Linked DNA regions of Homo sapiens: all the other regions are linked to region 3. Evidence: promoter capture Hi-C in 16 types of primary human blood cells and fetal thymus (Javierre and others, 2016). All regions are on one chromosome and are shown on one strand. Each heading gives the region's core, a stretch centred on a gene start or on the middle of the fragment in contact. The rest is flanking DNA. Distances are from core to core; before and after follow the strand shown. Region 1 has its middle 64 kb from the start of MAT2B. Region 2 has its middle 45 kb from the start of MAT2B. Region 3 holds the start of TENM2-AS1 (TENM2 antisense RNA 1). Region 4 has its middle 280 kb from the start of LINC03000.

Region 1 (4,112 bases), core at 756-3,255, 4.7 Mb before region 3:
ATATTTCATGGGGCTACAATGCCATACTATGTGTTTTGGAGGATACAGCTCTCTTATAGTTATGGTGACTGAATTCCTAAGTAATGAGCCCAAGGCCAGACTTGAGGACTAATTCTATTCCTAGACAGGGTATGATGAGGGCATCAATTAGCCCTGATGATACTCTGCTGAGAATTCATTTTTTGCATCTAGAACTATGCTCTTTCCGGCTTGCCTAGTAACCAAAATCCTGTCTTATAAGGCATTCCAGTAAGTGCATTCCCACTTTGGGCTCCTGCACATTTTCTAATTCCTTTGGCCTGATTTGTCATTCCAAGGTCTGGCATCCTACCCAGACCCCAAACTGGACTCTGTATTGCTAGTTTCTCTTCATGGCATGGCTTACATTGCTACCTGTGTTCTCTCAATCTGCCTTTCCTGGTGGCCTGTCTCAGTATCCCAATCTTCATTATTGGCTCTATGCCTTTCTGACCCATCCTAGCTCTTTGTCAAGTATTTGGTCTGGTTTGGTTGTTGAAGACTTTAGGCTTTTGGGCCAAACAGTTCCAATTCCAGTTCCACGATCTGATAATTGTACACTCTGGAGTAAGTTACTTCACTTTGGACCTCAGCTTTCTCATCTATTAATAGAGGTAACTCCCTCATACAGTCCTTGTTGGGATTAAATGATAAACTGCAGGTGATATGCTGCTAATATCACGTGGCACAGAACAAGAGGGCAATAACTATCAGTCGTTATATTACCTAAGTCTCAAAGGCTTCTTCGATCAGTTTAGCCCACACTGAGCCCTCTGGTCTCTAAATATTTTGTGCTCGGTGTCTCATACTTAGCACTCAATGCTGTATGTGACTTAGTTACACTGTCCCAAGCTAGATTTGGAGTTATTTTTTTTTTTCAAAATTATGGATAATTTCATACATACTCATTAGTAGAGAGAATAGTAGCATGGATCCTCCTGCAGTTGTCATTGAATTGAGATTTTTGGGATAGCTCTTTTTTACCTTGCTCTACTGTTAAATGTATTATTGGTCCATACACAGGTGACAGGGAATTTGCCCTGACTGAGCAAGAGCTACCCACTGTGTGTGAGGCTTCATATAAAGAAGTACCTGCTCAGCCTCTCTTGGAATATGGGACCACCACAAAGTCTCTGTTTTTTTCTAAAGAATGGGGAGATGGAAGAATGGCACCCTCTCATATGGTTCCTGGAGAATCCACTTCACTTTCCAAAACTTTATTCTCCTGTCTCCTCTTGTCAGTTATTCAAGGCTTGAATTGTGTTCAATTCATTTTGTATCCTCAGCCCCTAACAGAACTTGGTGCAAAAAAATCTTTGAATGATTGTCTTTCCATTTTTGCTAAAGTTTTATTAGAACTGTTTTCTAGTATCAGAATTGAATCCCAGTTCTAGACCTAGAGCCTTAAGGCTGCAGACCTAAAGAAGACAGATCTCAGAGCTAAATCTCTCTCTTCTCTCTCTCTTTTTTGTACTGGATGATTGACATCTGAGGACACAGCATATTGACTTCTTTTAAGATGTTGAAACAAATAAAAACTATGTGCAGGAGGAAACATGATCCTACATTTATTTATGAGGCATCAGACAATGTCTCAGGAAACAGATGTTTTGTGCTGTAATTCCTCTTGATGGCACTGGAGCCTTAAATATCATCGCAAGTCCAGCCTTTCACATTCTAAATCCTATTATCTAGGTTAGCTCATCTGTATTCAAAAGATCAATGTTGCATTATTACAAAGATCCTTTCAAGTGTAAAAAGGATGGCACTTCATTACAGAAAGTAAAAGAAACTAATCAAACTTTCTTGGTGAAATCATTGACTTTTTAAAGTAAAGGGCAAATTTAAGAATTTGAAAGTCCGAGATGCGAGAGAACCCAGTGGTTTAGGCTCACCCTGGCATGTGCCTGGTTGTAGCATGTGGGTCTTGGGTAACCCAAAGAAGAAAGATTTCTTAAAAAGAGTATCAATGCTCCCAGCTGTTCTCATTTCTTCTGTCACCGCTTGGTTGTGTATCTTGGAAAAAAAATATACTTCTGGTGGGAAGACTCAAGGAGAGAATCTGTGCTGTGTGGTATACTGGCAATATTTGTACTGACCTGGTTAATATAAATTGTTAAGAAAACATTGGTAAATATTATTTATTCATAGTGTTAACTATTCTTTCAATAGGCAGTCCTTGTTTCTTTTCATTGCAGTTGGCATTCTCTGGGTTGTGTATTCACATACAGGATGTTTACTGGGGAGTACTTTTGGGATTGGCACCAGTGGAAGGGAGGGGAAGAAAACAGGATGCAGTAGAGGGAGAAGTGGAGTATGGTGCATGCCCAAGGATATATACACAAGGACGAGGAACTCTGGAGCTGGAATGGCCTTTCGAAACTCTCTTCCCTGAGGAGCAGACAGCCTGCCCAACAGTCATTGTGTTGTAAGTGGACCACCTTGGAGAAGGAGTTTGACTTTACCAAGGCATTGCTCTTTAGCTGGGGCAATCCCCAAAGAAAGATGGTAGCTAAGGACTATTTGCTAGCAGCACTCCTAGCAGCCTGGGTAAAATTCCTTTTATTTCTCAAAGAAGAATCTGGGAAGCACGTCACAGTCTCTACCACTCTTAATATCTTAAAAGAAAATGCTCATTGATCAGCTTCAGTGTAATAGGACTGTGGTAGGTACTGGGGCTTATCGTGGTGAATAAGAAACAGTCCTTGCCTTCAAGGTATTTATCATCAGCCTCTTCTTGCTAAGATTTGTTGATTATTACGATATTCCAGGCACAGTTCCAAAGAGTCTACTTGTATGAACTGTTGTAACGCACTAAGCCATATGAGATACTTAGAGCTCTTATCCTCATTTTATAGATGGAGAAACTGAGGCACATGGGGGAGAAATTTGGGGAAGGCTCTTTTCAGAGTCCTGATAGCCTGCTTCTATATTGCTTCCCAAATGTTGCCATTTCTGTAAGATCAAAACCATTCTTTGTATTCTGGTCACTTGTATCTGAGTTAACTATAAAATTTGCTTACTGACATATATTTAGCGTGGCTATTATGGTAAAGCTGCCCTGTCCAATAATAGTAGCCGCTAGTCACATAAATCCATAGAGCATTGAAAATGCAAACCGTCCAACTTGAGGTGCGTTCTTAAGTGTAAAACACACACAGGATTTCAAAGACGTACTGTGGAAAACAAAATGTACAACAGCTCATCATTTTTTTTTTTACATTGATTGCATGTTGAAACAATAATATTTTGGATATATTGAGTTAAATAAAAGTCTATTTTAAAAATTAATTTTAGCCTGTTTTCATGTTTTAATGTTGCCACTTGGAAATTTAAAATTACATACATGGCTTGCATTTGTGGCTTGCATTTTATTTCTATCAGACAACAGTGCTTTAGAGTACCTGAGATTTTTCCAAATGGGATGTATTTTGCTCTTAAATGCAGAGAAAGTCCTTATTTACTTTGGTATTGGGATCAGGTTCTTTTGATATGCTTCATTTAATTTGTATTTATTAATAAGGATTCTATTCATCGGATAGCCACTATGTGCTGGTTGTTTAGTGATTGTTGAAAACTAGTTAGAGGCAGGCTGAGTGAGATGAATTAAAGTTCTATTGTTGCAGGGGAACAAGGTCATCAACTTGAGATTAATCAACGGATTTTAAATCACCAGGAAGGGATATTTTACCCTCAGCTTTACAGTTTCAGCATGTAAATTGCTGTTTAGAGGAGAGCCTGTAAAATCAATCCAGCCTTTCTCCTTTCAGAAATTAAAAGCAATTTATTTTTGTTTTTGGCAAATCCTGGAAAGCCGTTCTACATCCAACTCCTTCTCCCTGACACCACCTGTGTTGCCTGTTTTTTAGGCCTTTGAATAGGGACGTGAGAAATTCAGTGGTTTTTGGGTCCCACAAGATTTGGAGGAAACCCCTCTGGTCCCTGTTGGGGAGTCCATCTGTCCCCACCTGGTACATTTTACTTCAAATGAGTCAGAAACTCCAAAGCTAAACTTGGCCAAAGTAGCACATGTCATGTGGACTCCACCCAGAGCCATATAAATCATCCCCGGATCACACCAAACTTGGCCTCCA
Region 2 (4,015 bases), core at 1,416-3,915, 4.7 Mb before region 3:
TAGTAGTTGTTACATTTTCCTCCCTCCAGACCAATTAAGTTCTCATTTCATATTTAGGGGCTCGCTGAAAGCAAATGCAGCAATCCCCAACCCCTTGTATTCTATTCATTAATTCTTGTCTTTGGCAAATATTGAAGAACTGGAGGTGATTGAGACACAAACCTTGTCTTCCATGGGTTTTATTCTGATGGAGCCCATGGGCAATATACAAATAAAAATAAATATATAATACAATAGCAAGTGGAGATAAGAATCAGTTAAATAGGTCTAGACCTATTACTATTAACTGGAAGGATATTCGTTATATTACAAACGTTATAACTGTCAGCAAAATCTGGGTCACAGGCTGAGGTCACGCATGGTAGACCAAGGGGAGGAGCTTGAGGGCCCCTCTTCACCTTCAATACCTGCACGCATCTCCATCAGTCACTGATGGTCTTTCTGGTTTCCTCTTTTATCTACCACATGAAAAGACTATCTGATTATAATTTGATGCCTGATAATTTCTAAGTTAGGTGGAGAACATCAGGCTTCCTTTCTAAAGGAGTCATTTTGTTTACAATGGCACTGCCTTTGCCTTGGTGCTGATCGTTTTTGTGGTTTTTCTTTTGTTGTAATCTTATCCTTTCCTTTCCTTTTTTTTTTTTTTTAATCGATGAAGGGTTTATATCGGGACGGGCAGTGTTGAGTATTTAGTTTCTTTTTTCAAATTGAGCACAATGATATTTATTACGCATTTCTGGTTTCAAGCTAATCAATAAAGGAGGCCAGCAAAAGCCCGCCCTTCCGGAGGCTCGGGCTCACTGAATGTGTGTGGCAAAAGCTGGAATTTTATCTCTTAAGAAAAACGGATGGATCCCACTGCTATCTGACTGCTCTGTCAGACAACAGATGAAGAGAAACCCCTCCAAAAAGTTGTTATGGTTTCTCACTGGACTTTCAGATGTCTGTTCACAGATGAGCTTCTAATTAACCAGAAATCTGTCTCCCACGAGGTCAATAAAAATCTGACACCTTTTCAGAAGTACATTTTGGAGTGACTTTCTGGTCATTTTAGAGAGCATTAAAACATAAAAGCATTTCGCTTTCCAATGGAAGTTCTTTTCTATTAGTACCAAAGATGAAATCTCCATGATCCTTTATATGTTTCTAAGCAGCATAGCTAAACATCTCAAAGAATTTTCTCATTATTTTTCTGTAATTCAAACCTATGCAAGCTTAAAGGGAACAATAATGATACCTAGGATTGGCTTGTGTAGACCCAGATGGCTTTTGCATATTTTCATTACACATTTATTTAGTAATCAGAAGAAGTTATTTTGATTCTTATATAACCAGTTCCTCAGCCAGAGTAAAGTCAGAATAAAGTGAACTATCAGGCGTTATGAATATACCCATATTAGAGGAAAATATCCTTTCAGCCCTATCTTTATGGAAAAGGACTTAGGAAGTGCAAGTTCAAAACTTGGTAAGTCTGACCACTGTAGAATTTATTTCCTTAGTGTGGCATGTGTAAATTTTTTTGTGGGTTAAAAAAAAAAGATTGGATCAATTCTGAGGGATTTTATGTGTGGAGTCTTTCTGGAAGAGGTCTTTGTAAGTATAAAAATCTTTCTAGGTAATGTCCTTGAAATGGGTAAGGAGGGAAATGATAAACTGAGATGAGACCTTTCAGAAGTGCTAACAGATCCTCAGACCTGACCTGACCATCCATATTAAAACAGGACCGTGGTCTCCATTCAGGAGCTTTTTGATACCTTTTGATCTAGATATGTGAGATGTCTGGAGTCAAACCTGGAGGGTTTCCACAGGATAGTGTGGCTGTTTGGGTTCCCAGAAGCTTCCTTTAGCAGGTTAAGCAAGAAGTATATTCTTTAACAACCAAACCTCCTGTTCCTTAGCGTTAATCCCCAGCCACGTTAAACACATGTTTCCAAACTTTGTATTTAATGCATATCTAAAGACCAGTTTTGTCAAGGATTTACTCTGTCTTCCTTGTGCTCTTTGAGAAACTTAGGCAAGTCCACACATATTTTTTATAGCCTGCCTCACTCTTTACTATATATGTCAAATGTTTCAGCCTTCGTAAGGGAACAACTGTGCTCTCTCTGGATATAAATGTTACTGCTGTCAGTGAACTCAAGTCTATTTGTTCAGTTATGGAATTTTCTCTGAGGTTGCTCACACCTGTAATGCCAACATTTTGGGCAGCTGAGGCAGGAGGATCACTTGAGCCCAGGAGTTTGAGATCAGCCTGGCTAATATAGGGAGACCTTTTCTCTACAAAAATTAAAAGAATTAGTTGGAAATGGTGGCAGGAGGATCCCTTGAGCCAAGGCCAAGGAGGTTGAGGCTGCAGTGAGCTATGATTGTGCCACTGTGCTTTAGCCTAGGCAACAGAGACCTTGTCTCAAAAATAGAAAAAAAAAAAAAAGAAAAGAAAAAAAGAAAAAGAAAAAAAAGAAGGAAAAGAAAGAACTCTCTCTGGATGCCTAGAATTGAATATTTATGTCCAGTCAGTTATTGTTCCTTTAGCTTCCAGGTGAAACTAGTAGGGGCAGGAGATAAAAATTTAGTTTTTCCTAATAATAATAATAATAATAATAATAATAATAATAATCATCATCATCATCTCATGGATACTCATTGTAGAAAACAGGAAAAAAATTAAAAAGCAAATCACACACACGTCACACACACACACACACACACACACACACAAACTCATGATTTTATCATGCAGAAATAGTCATTATTAACATTTTGGCTTACTTTCCTCTGGTCTTTGTTTTAGTAATAATATCGATAGAGCATTTGCCGTGTACTGAGTACTTTGCACCCATTGAGAGATAGGTAGTGTTATCCTAAGTTCCTAGAAACCACTATGTCACATACAGACTAGAGGGCAATGTACATTATGTTCTTGCACATCTACACACCATAATCAACAGACACATATACAAACATGCATGCATATTGGGTTCCTGTGTATCGGTTTCTCTGTACCTTATTTTACTCAACATGCTGTCATAAACATTTAACCATGAAAATAGATAATCTTTGAACATACCTTTTGTTAAGGCATACTATTTCAAGCTGTGGATATATCACAATCTACTTAGTCACTTCCCAGTTGTTTGCTTTTTGGATTGTTGCTGCTGTTTTCAGCACACTTGTTTATTCTACCAAATCAGAACCAAAATATCTATTTTCTGAGGCTTGAATATTTCCAATAAGGGTTAAGCCCATTTTTTTGACTGCCTGCAAACTGTCTCTTATATGAGGTTACAAACATATTATAAATAAACAGACTTTGAATTTGAACACTTCTAGAAAGAGGAAAGGGGGATTAGAACAACTCTAAAGGGTTGAAAGCCCACCTTGGAATCCAGAGCCAAGTCACACCATAACCCTTTCTCCCTCTTGACACCTCCATTAATTCCATACACAAGTTTTTTCAGGCGTGGGTAACTTTATTTTGATAAAATTATAAGCTTTGAAAATACTTGTAGGATATTGCACTGTATTTATTTGTCATGTATCTTTATTCTTTAATCTGATCAGCTACTTTTCTATATCTTTCTTGGTATCAACATGAGGAGCATAGGCCATTATTTTGTAGAATGTCCTTCAGTTTGGGTTTCTCCAGTGCTTCCTCAAAATTAGATTCAGGTTATTCATTTTTGGCAGGAATACCAGTTGGTGTTTGCCCTTTCTGTGTATCGTATCTGGAGACTCATGCTATCCATTGGTTCCATTACTGCTGATGTTAACTTTGATCCCTTAGTTAAAGTTGAGGGTGTGTCTGCCAAGTTTCTCTACTGTAAAGTTATTATTTTGCCCTTTGTAATTGACAATTTGTCAGGCAGTGTTTGAGAATATGTATGTATCCTATTCCTCCTTGACCTTCTACCCACTAGTTTTAGCATCTCCTATTGCTTGGACAGCTGCAGAATGGTGATTTTCTAACTTCATGATTCATACCCATTTATTAGCTGCTGTTCTACTATAAGAA
Region 3 (3,729 bases), core at 597-3,096:
CGTGAGCCCATGGCAGGGAGTTTGCAGCCCCTAAGCCGAAGGTACCCATTGGCCCCATAAGGCTAGCAGGCTGTCTCACCATTGGCAAGATGGGCTCTTCTCTCCCTATCTATCTATCTTAGTCTTGCTGTGTCTTTTCATCCCTGCTCCACTGTCACATGAGGGCATGAAAGTTCATTTATTCAAAAGATGTTTATTAGGTGCCAACACTACAGTCAGTACCACGGAACAAGGAGACTCTAGAGAGATAAAGAAAACTGGGTGGCACCGACTAGCTAACGGTCTCATGGAGAAGACAATATTAGTAGTGTGATGTAAGCTATAATACAGGCCAAAAGCACAAAGAAAGGGATACTTAACTGTATCTGCTGGAAGAGGATAGGCCACGGCCAGGTAACAAATTAACCCTGAAATCTCATGGGCGTAACACATCGCAGTCCAAATGCATCGGGCGGCTCTTCTTAATGAGGACTTGCTCCAGTTGCTCTGTCTTGCGATCCTGCCATCTTAAGCACAGGCTCTGTGCAGTTGCTGCAGCAAGGGAAGAGAGTTTGGGTGATTCACGAGAGCTTAATAAGCAGGCCTGGATACGGCAGGCCTCACTTCCACCCACCCTGGTGAGAACACTATCAGGGAACCTCAACTGAACCACAGGGAAGCCTGGAAAATGTTGTCTTTTCTGAGTGCCTAAGAAGAAGAAGATGAACAAAGACTTGGTAAGCACGTAGCAGAGTGATCAGGTCTCCCGTTTGACAAGAGATCAGGAAGGGCTTCACAGAGGAGCTGGAATCATTTCTGTAGAGTAGTAAGAATCAGCCAGGCAGAGATAGGGAACAGAGGTGACAGGACAAAGAATGTCGCCAGTGGAAAGGCCAAGAGGCCAAAAAGGGAATGGCATTTCAGAAAACTAATTCAGTGTGGCAGTGGATGTGTTAGAGAGTAGGGTAGAAAAAGAAGATGCAGCCAGAGACTGCACATGGAAAAGAACATGGTGCCAGGCTAACATTTATCCTGAGGGCAATGGTGAGCCCTACCTGGACTTCATTAGCAGAGTGATGTGCTGGGATGTGTGGCATTAGAAAGCTCTCTCCAGCCTGGGCACAGTGGCTCATGCTTGTTTTCCCAACACTTTGGGAGGCCAAAGTGGGAGGATCATTTTCGCCTAGGGGTTCAAGACAAGACCAGCCTAGGCAATATAGCAAAACCGCAATATAGCAAAACCCTGTCTCTACAACAACAAACAACAACAACAACCAAAAAAAAAAAAAAAGTTTAAATAGCCGACCATGGCCTGGCACAGTAGCTCATGCCTATAATCCTAGCACTTTGGGAGGCCAAGGCAGGAGGATCCCTTGAGCCCAGGAGTTGGAGACCAGCCTGGGCAACATAGGGAGACCCTGTCATGGTGGCACATGCCTGTAGTCCCAGCTATTCGGGAGGCCAAGGCAGGAGGACTGCTTGAGCACAGGAGTTTGAGGCTGCAGTGAGTTCTGATCATGCCCTGTACTCCAGCCTGGGCAACAGAGCAAGACCCTGTCTCAAGAAAAGGAAAGAAAAGATCTCTCTGACTTCCTCAGGTATGGAGGAAGACAGATGAGAAGGGGACAAGATAGATGATAGGAGGAGAGGGACAGTAAGGAGGGTGCTGCATTAGTCCAAACAAGAAACTAAATCACTAGCAGCGAGGAAAGAAAGAAGGTAGGGGGAGAGATTTGAGAGATGTCTAGCACACGAGGACGAGGATTGGGCAACTAGCAGGGTTGCTGTGTCATGCTCACCTTTTGACAGGCTCTCCCCATGATCATGTAAACTGGGAAGGCTGGGTGGCCGTCCACGCTTTGTGGGCTCTGTAAAAGAGAGTGGCTGGGAGCTGAAACCCAAGCCAGAGATGTAAGATTCTGGTGGCCCCAGCCCTGCCTCTTGGAATGGAGAAGAAACTAAATGAACTTTGAAATGCAGCCACTTAACCAGCTCCATGTAATCACTGCTCCCCATGTGGAGAGCAGGGATTTGGAGAGAATGTGTGGGTATCATGCATGAAGCAAATAGCCTGAACGTCCCCGGGACTGGCAAGCTCCTGGGAGCCTGGTCAGCTGAGGGGTGTGAGGGCCCAAGGCTCTGAACATTCCTGGAGTTTAGAGAAGACCAACAATCTCAGTGAAGCCATCACAATAGAACAGTGCCCAGTGAAATTCCAACCCACCTAGGTACCCTTTCTTCCCACAATCCTCCAGACGGAGGCATCTCTTAGTGGAGGAAAGTATCAGTGGCTCTTCCTTACAGCCTGGGGAAATGTAAGATGATGGCGGATGGATAGACCGGGACCACATCCTTTCACCAAAAGCTTTGTAATGGAGTGTTAGTCCCTTCATTCCTGCCCAAACTCAGTGCAGGGAAGATTTTCATTATGCCTCCCAAGAACTCCTCAAAGAATCTCCTTTGAAAGAGTCCTCCCCCTCCTTCCCGCATTGTCCTCCATTCCTTTCTTCACTCACTCTGGCCTTGCAAAAACATGAAGCAGGCCGGGCGTGGTGTCTCACGCCTGTAATCCCAGCACTTTGGGAGGCCGAGGCGGGTGGATCACGAGGTCAGGAGATCAAGACCCTCCTGAACAAAATGGTGAAACCCCATCTCTACTAAAAATACAAAAATCAGCTGGGTGTGGTGGCGCATGCCTGTAATCCCAGCTACTCAGGAGGCTGAGGCAGGAGAATCGCTTGAACCAGGGAGTCGGAGGTTGCAGGGAGCCAAGATCGTGCCACTGCACTCCAGTCTGGCAGCAGAGTGAGACTCCCATCTCAAAAAAAAAAGAAGCAGTTACATCATGGCATCTGTGAGCTCCATAAGTGCAGGGACCAGGTCGCCCCTGTATCCCTGGTGACAAGTGCCATGTGGTGGGTACTCAGACAACAGGTGACAAAGAAAGATGTAATAACTGTGCCTTCTATAGGCGCCTTCTTAATGTGTAAATGCTCCCCCACCACAGTGGGTATAAATTCACAAATACATTGCCCCTACATCTGTCTGGAATCCTTCCACTGCAAGAGACAGGAAGTGCATTCAGACTAACTTAGAAGAGTAGGCGCTGTCTTACCTAACAGGGCCACCACAAGGGAGAAGCTGGCCTCAGAGACTCTAAGATGTCATTAAATGGTGTACTAGTCTGTTTTCACGCTGCTGATAAAGACATACCCAAGACTGGGAAGAAAAAGAAGTTTAATTGGACTTACTTACAGTTCCACATGGCTGGGGAGGCCTCAGAATCATGGCGGGAGGCAAAAGGCACTTCTTACTTGACGGCATCAAGAGAAAATGAGGAAGAAGCAAAAGCGGAAACTCCTGATAAACCCATCAGATCTCGTGATACTTATTCACTATCACTAGAATAGCACGGGAAAGATCGGCCCCCAGGATTCAATTACCTCCCCCTGGGTCCCTCCCAACACATGGGAATTCTAGGAGATACAATTCAAATCAAGATTTGGGTGGGGACACAGCCAAACCATATCAGATGGACGTCTCTCTTTCTGTTTCTCACAGCCCCCTTCCATCCCATGGCAGGGTTTCTCTCTCGGCAGTTGACCTAATTTTCTCCTACAGTAGACTAATGTCCTCTTCACATTGCGGGGGTGGGGGGTGGTCAGGCAGACTTAGCCAAAGTTGACTCCAGGCTTACATCATCACAGCTAAGTGAACCCAGAGGAAAAAGGAAGGTATCTCCCCCAGCAT
Region 4 (4,112 bases), core at 393-2,892, 4.2 Mb before region 3:
CAAAAACCTGATGCCGACTGTTTCCGCTGTCTGAATGCTCTTCTCTCAACTGTTAATAGAGGTCTTCCCTGACTATTTAACTAAAATACTGTCCCTGCCACCCCACAATCACCTTCTGTTCCGTTACCCTATATTATGTTCTTCACAACACCTTACACTATTTGAAATTGTCTCTTTGATTCTTTTTTAAAAATTTTCTGTCACCATCCCCCTTGTCTCAATGAGGATGTAAGTTCTGTGTGAGCTTGGACCTCATGTGGGACTTCAACTTGGCATTCCCCGTGTTTATAACAGCACCTGGTAGTAGGCACTCAATTAAAATGTATGGAATGGCCGAGTGAATGAGCACAAGGCCTGTGGTTCAATCGAAGTTGGCTCCTGTCTGTATCCCTGTTGGTAACACTGCGTACACCAGTGGGATGGGGACTTTGGGCCTTGTCAGGGTTGTTCAGTGGTTCTGCTCAGTGTGATTTCTCTCTGAGGTCCGGAGAGTTAAGGAGCCTTTTGTCTCAGGATTAGGGAACTATTTGCTTTTACTACCTGGAATTTGTACTGTCACAGTTGAGCATTTGAACTTTCATGCTATTCAAGTGCTGATGCGGGTATTTGAGATCTTAATAGCAAAAGTAAAAAGAATATGTCCATAGTTCATAAACAGACACCCTATGCTTCCATTTTGCTTTTATAGCACTTCATCACAGTGAAGAGTGGATTCAGTGATGCACGAAGTTTTTACATCATCTCCGACTTGCACCACTTACGAGCTTTAAAGTGACCCCCCGGCTTTAAAGCTTCCTGAAGCAAATTACCTATTGCCACCGATACTAAAATGGTACTTCTTCCTTAAATCCCAATAAATCCCCCAAATGTTATGCAAATTGAAAAATACCCCTGTCAAAAGACTGTCAGATAACACCTCTCTTTCCCAAAGACTATTTGTAAGCATAAAGAAACATCCAGAAAGAAGTAATAAATTGTTCTAGTAGGCTGTTCTGGCAGCCATTAATAAATCAATATGAAGGGGAGTTCTGAAGGGCAAAATGTTGCTGTCGGTGGGTGTCCGATTTAATTTTGCTCTAAATTAATATTTTGAATATGATAAGTGAGCTGGCAGGAACAGATTTCGTGATTAATTCTATGGAGTCAAAAATGCTTTGATGGCACTTTAATAGCTGCTCCACTGATCTAAAAGTGCCTGAAACGGGCTCACGTGGGCATGCTCACAAATTGCATGATAATGTGGATCCCACCCAAGGAGGAGATTTACTTTTTATTTTCAAATCTCTGGCATACCTTGGGATAGACGTGTTTCATCACGCAAGTGGAGACATTTTTATAGCATTGTGAGCCATGGCTGAATGATACATGTGGTACGAGTGAGCAGAAAGTGCCGTTAAAACTCGCCTGTAAGTCCTGCCTCCCAGAAGCCATTGTAAATCAGCTTACAATGAAATCATTGCTCCTTTGAGAATGAGAGTTCCTAGAATGAAAAAAATATGTATTTCTTTTTTATTATTATTATACTTTAAGTTTTAGGGTACATGTGCACAATGTGCAGGTTAGTTACATATGTATACATGTGCAATGCTGGTGCGCTGCACCCACTAACTCGTCCTCTAGCATTAGGTATATCTCCCAGTGCTATCCCTCCCCCCTCCCCCCACCCCACAACAGTTAGGGATCTAGAACTAGATATACCATTTGACCCAGCCATCTCATTACTGGGTATATAGCCAAGGGACTATAAATCATGCTGCTATAAAAAATATATATTTCAAAAAGGCCAGAAAAATAGATATAACCTGAGCTCATGAATGAGAAACAAGAATGAAGCCCACATGTTTACTTTGGGGTCAACTCTGCCTTTAAGTTGCTGCTAGCGTGATAGGCTTCCATTATGTGAACTGGGAGGCTCCCGCTGAATTATGGCATTTATTAGCAGTGTATTGAGTGCGTCAGGTATTTTGTTAAATGTTGAGACATTAAGGAAAAAGGCGACAGACTGCCTACACTTATAGAGCTTATAGTCCTCCTTGTGAGGCAAATATTAGCTGAAGGCAGAAGAAGGGCTGAATAGAGGATTGAACAAAGGGTCTTAGGGCCATATGAGAAGACAGAATAAGCTCTGTCCAGGGACTTCTATGTTTCATCTCTTTCTTAAAGTATAGGATTTTGATGGGGGTACACAGATATTTTAAGCTGAGAAAATAAAGGGGAAAAGCCTAAAGGTACACATCCTTGGGCAGTGAAAAGTTAGTTATGGGTCCTAAGGGAGGTAGGATCATGATATACACTTTAGGAAGATTACTGTGGAAACTACGTTTATGTTGTGGATTATATTAGAGAAATATGCATGTCATCGTTAAGCCAGATTTCTGGCTACAACAAGTCATCAAAGGTCCCCTTACTCAGCACATCTCCTACAGCCAGTTTGTGGGGGAAGCCAAAAAGTTTCAGCTAAATTGCATTTTATGGGCCTGCAGGACATTAAAAGAAGCTTACAATTCATTAGACATGTGGATCTATGGATGTGAGGCTCAGAGATCTTGATTGTAGACATAGATTGGGGATCACAAATTTGAATGAGATCATGCAAGTAGAGTGGGTAGAGTGAAAAGAGAAGAGGTCTTAGGTCCAAATCTTGATGAACATCAACAATTAGAGATGAATGGGAGAAGAAAGAAGGCTTTATGAGAATTTGTTAAGTCTCTTCCATGTGAATGAGTAAAAATAATACGAGAGAAATGAGAAATCAATTACTTCACTTAGATTGTTTTGAATACAGGCTGAACATTTGAAGTTGGAGGTATACTAATTGGTCATTCAGATCTCACCAATGCCAAAGCAAACACAAAGGAAAAGCATTCCTGTGTTCTCTGTTCTTGCTAGAAGCCTATGTGATTTTTAAGTTATATGTGGTTGGGTAAATGTTTGGGCAAAAGCAGTCCTATGACATCTTTTTCTATAGGGAAGAAAAACAAAACTAAGCTTTAATTAGGTCCCTCACACTTACTTTTCTTTCAATCTGCTGACTTACGCTACTTTCTTCTTTTTGTTGCCTTTGCTGTTTCAAAGTACACATCAGCGATGCTTAGGATTATTTACTATGCATTGGCATTATACTTTTGCTATTAATATTCATTAGAACCCTGGAAAATTGATTAGTTAATTAAGTGCAAAAGACTTGCCTGAGAAGCTGTTCATTTATTCTTATGTTTAATATGCTTCATATACATAGTATCATTCACTCATTTTTTTCAGTCTCCTTCAAAGACTTCCCAACAAATTATTACTCAACAAGCACACATATTATTTTGTTTGTTTGTTTCACTGGCACTCTAAGCTGTCTAGTAGCAAATCTAATATCTGTGTTTGTAGACTAATGGGTAAGGGAAATAACCATACTCTTATGAGCGAGTCTTTTTGTTCACTTTAGATTCAGCAAAACTGAAGTTTAAAGATAAAAACTGTTTTGAGGATTAAATATTCATTCAACTTTGTCCTGCCCATTGATAATTATCTGGGATGCAGGTAACGTAGGGCATATTTTTACTCTTTAAAGTCACTATGATGATTAAAATTCTTCCATTGAAGATGAATAAATTCAAATGTTGGACTCAAGATGCCAAGCCCAGCCACCTCTATTTGGCCACTGGCCATGCAGAACCCTGGTGTCTTCAGTTTTCCAGAATTATACTTGGAGGCCCTGGCTTTTCCTGGAAAGGGCCATAAGAGACTCAAGTGTCAAACCAGAATTGTTAATTTATGATTTTGCCTGGAGAAATAAGATTGTCAGGAGGTCCAGATTACCTTCTGACTTAGAACATTCTCTCTCTCTAAGCCTTGAGATGATGTGAGGATGGTCTTTACAATCATCCCCAAAAATTGCATGGAAAATTGCTTGTGTGTGTGTGTGTGTGTGTGTGTGTGTGTGTCTGCATGCAAACTTTGTTTTTTGTTGTGGAGAGGGCCAAAGCTTTCTTTGATTCTCCAAGTCAAGAACTCATGCAATAACCAAACTGCAAGTGAAACCTAATTATTCTTGGAAGATTGCTTGACAAGCATAAAGAAAAGGGAGGTAGTAAGAAAAGTTGAATGGCACTGCCACCATA

The links. Contacts are between HindIII fragments. The CHiCAGO score rates a contact against its expected background, and 5 or more counts as called.
Region 1: a fragment that was not itself captured here is called in contact with the fragment with the promoter of TENM2-AS1 in region 3 in 8 of 17 cell types (total B cells, naive CD8 T cells, non-activated CD4 T cells and 5 more); the score reaches 19.9 in total B cells.
Region 2: a fragment that was not itself captured here is called in contact with the fragment with the promoter of TENM2-AS1 in region 3 in 4 of 17 cell types (total CD4 T cells, naive CD8 T cells, total B cells and 1 more); the score reaches 10.6 in total CD4 T cells.
Region 4: a fragment that was not itself captured here is called in contact with the fragment with the promoter of TENM2-AS1 in region 3 in 2 of 17 cell types (naive B cells and total B cells); the score reaches 9.5 in naive B cells.

What each region holds. Positions count from the first base shown.
Region 1 is chr5:163,567,826-163,571,937 of GRCh38, forward strand. No RefSeq gene overlaps it. Among named protein-coding and RNA genes, the nearest start is that of MAT2B, 64 kb to the left of the region's middle. The HindIII fragment of the contact is 4,431 bases long and covers 1-4,112 here.
Region 2 is chr5:163,548,458-163,552,472 of GRCh38, forward strand. No RefSeq gene overlaps it. Among named protein-coding and RNA genes, the nearest start is that of MAT2B, 45 kb to the left of the region's middle. The HindIII fragment of the contact is 1,654 bases long and covers 1,839-3,492 here.
Region 3 is chr5:168,230,526-168,234,254 of GRCh38, forward strand. It overlaps TENM2-AS1 (TENM2 antisense RNA 1), which reads right to left and starts at 1,847. Exons shown (of 3, transcript NR_109894.1): 1 at 1,779-1,847; 2 at 361-531. All of the region lies in intron 27 of TENM2 (teneurin transmembrane protein 2), which reads left to right. The HindIII fragment of the contact is 3,214 bases long and covers 1-2,342 here.
Region 4 is chr5:164,018,977-164,023,088 of GRCh38, forward strand. No RefSeq gene overlaps it. Among named protein-coding and RNA genes, the nearest start is that of LINC03000, 280 kb to the right of the region's middle. The HindIII fragment of the contact is 1,706 bases long and covers 790-2,495 here.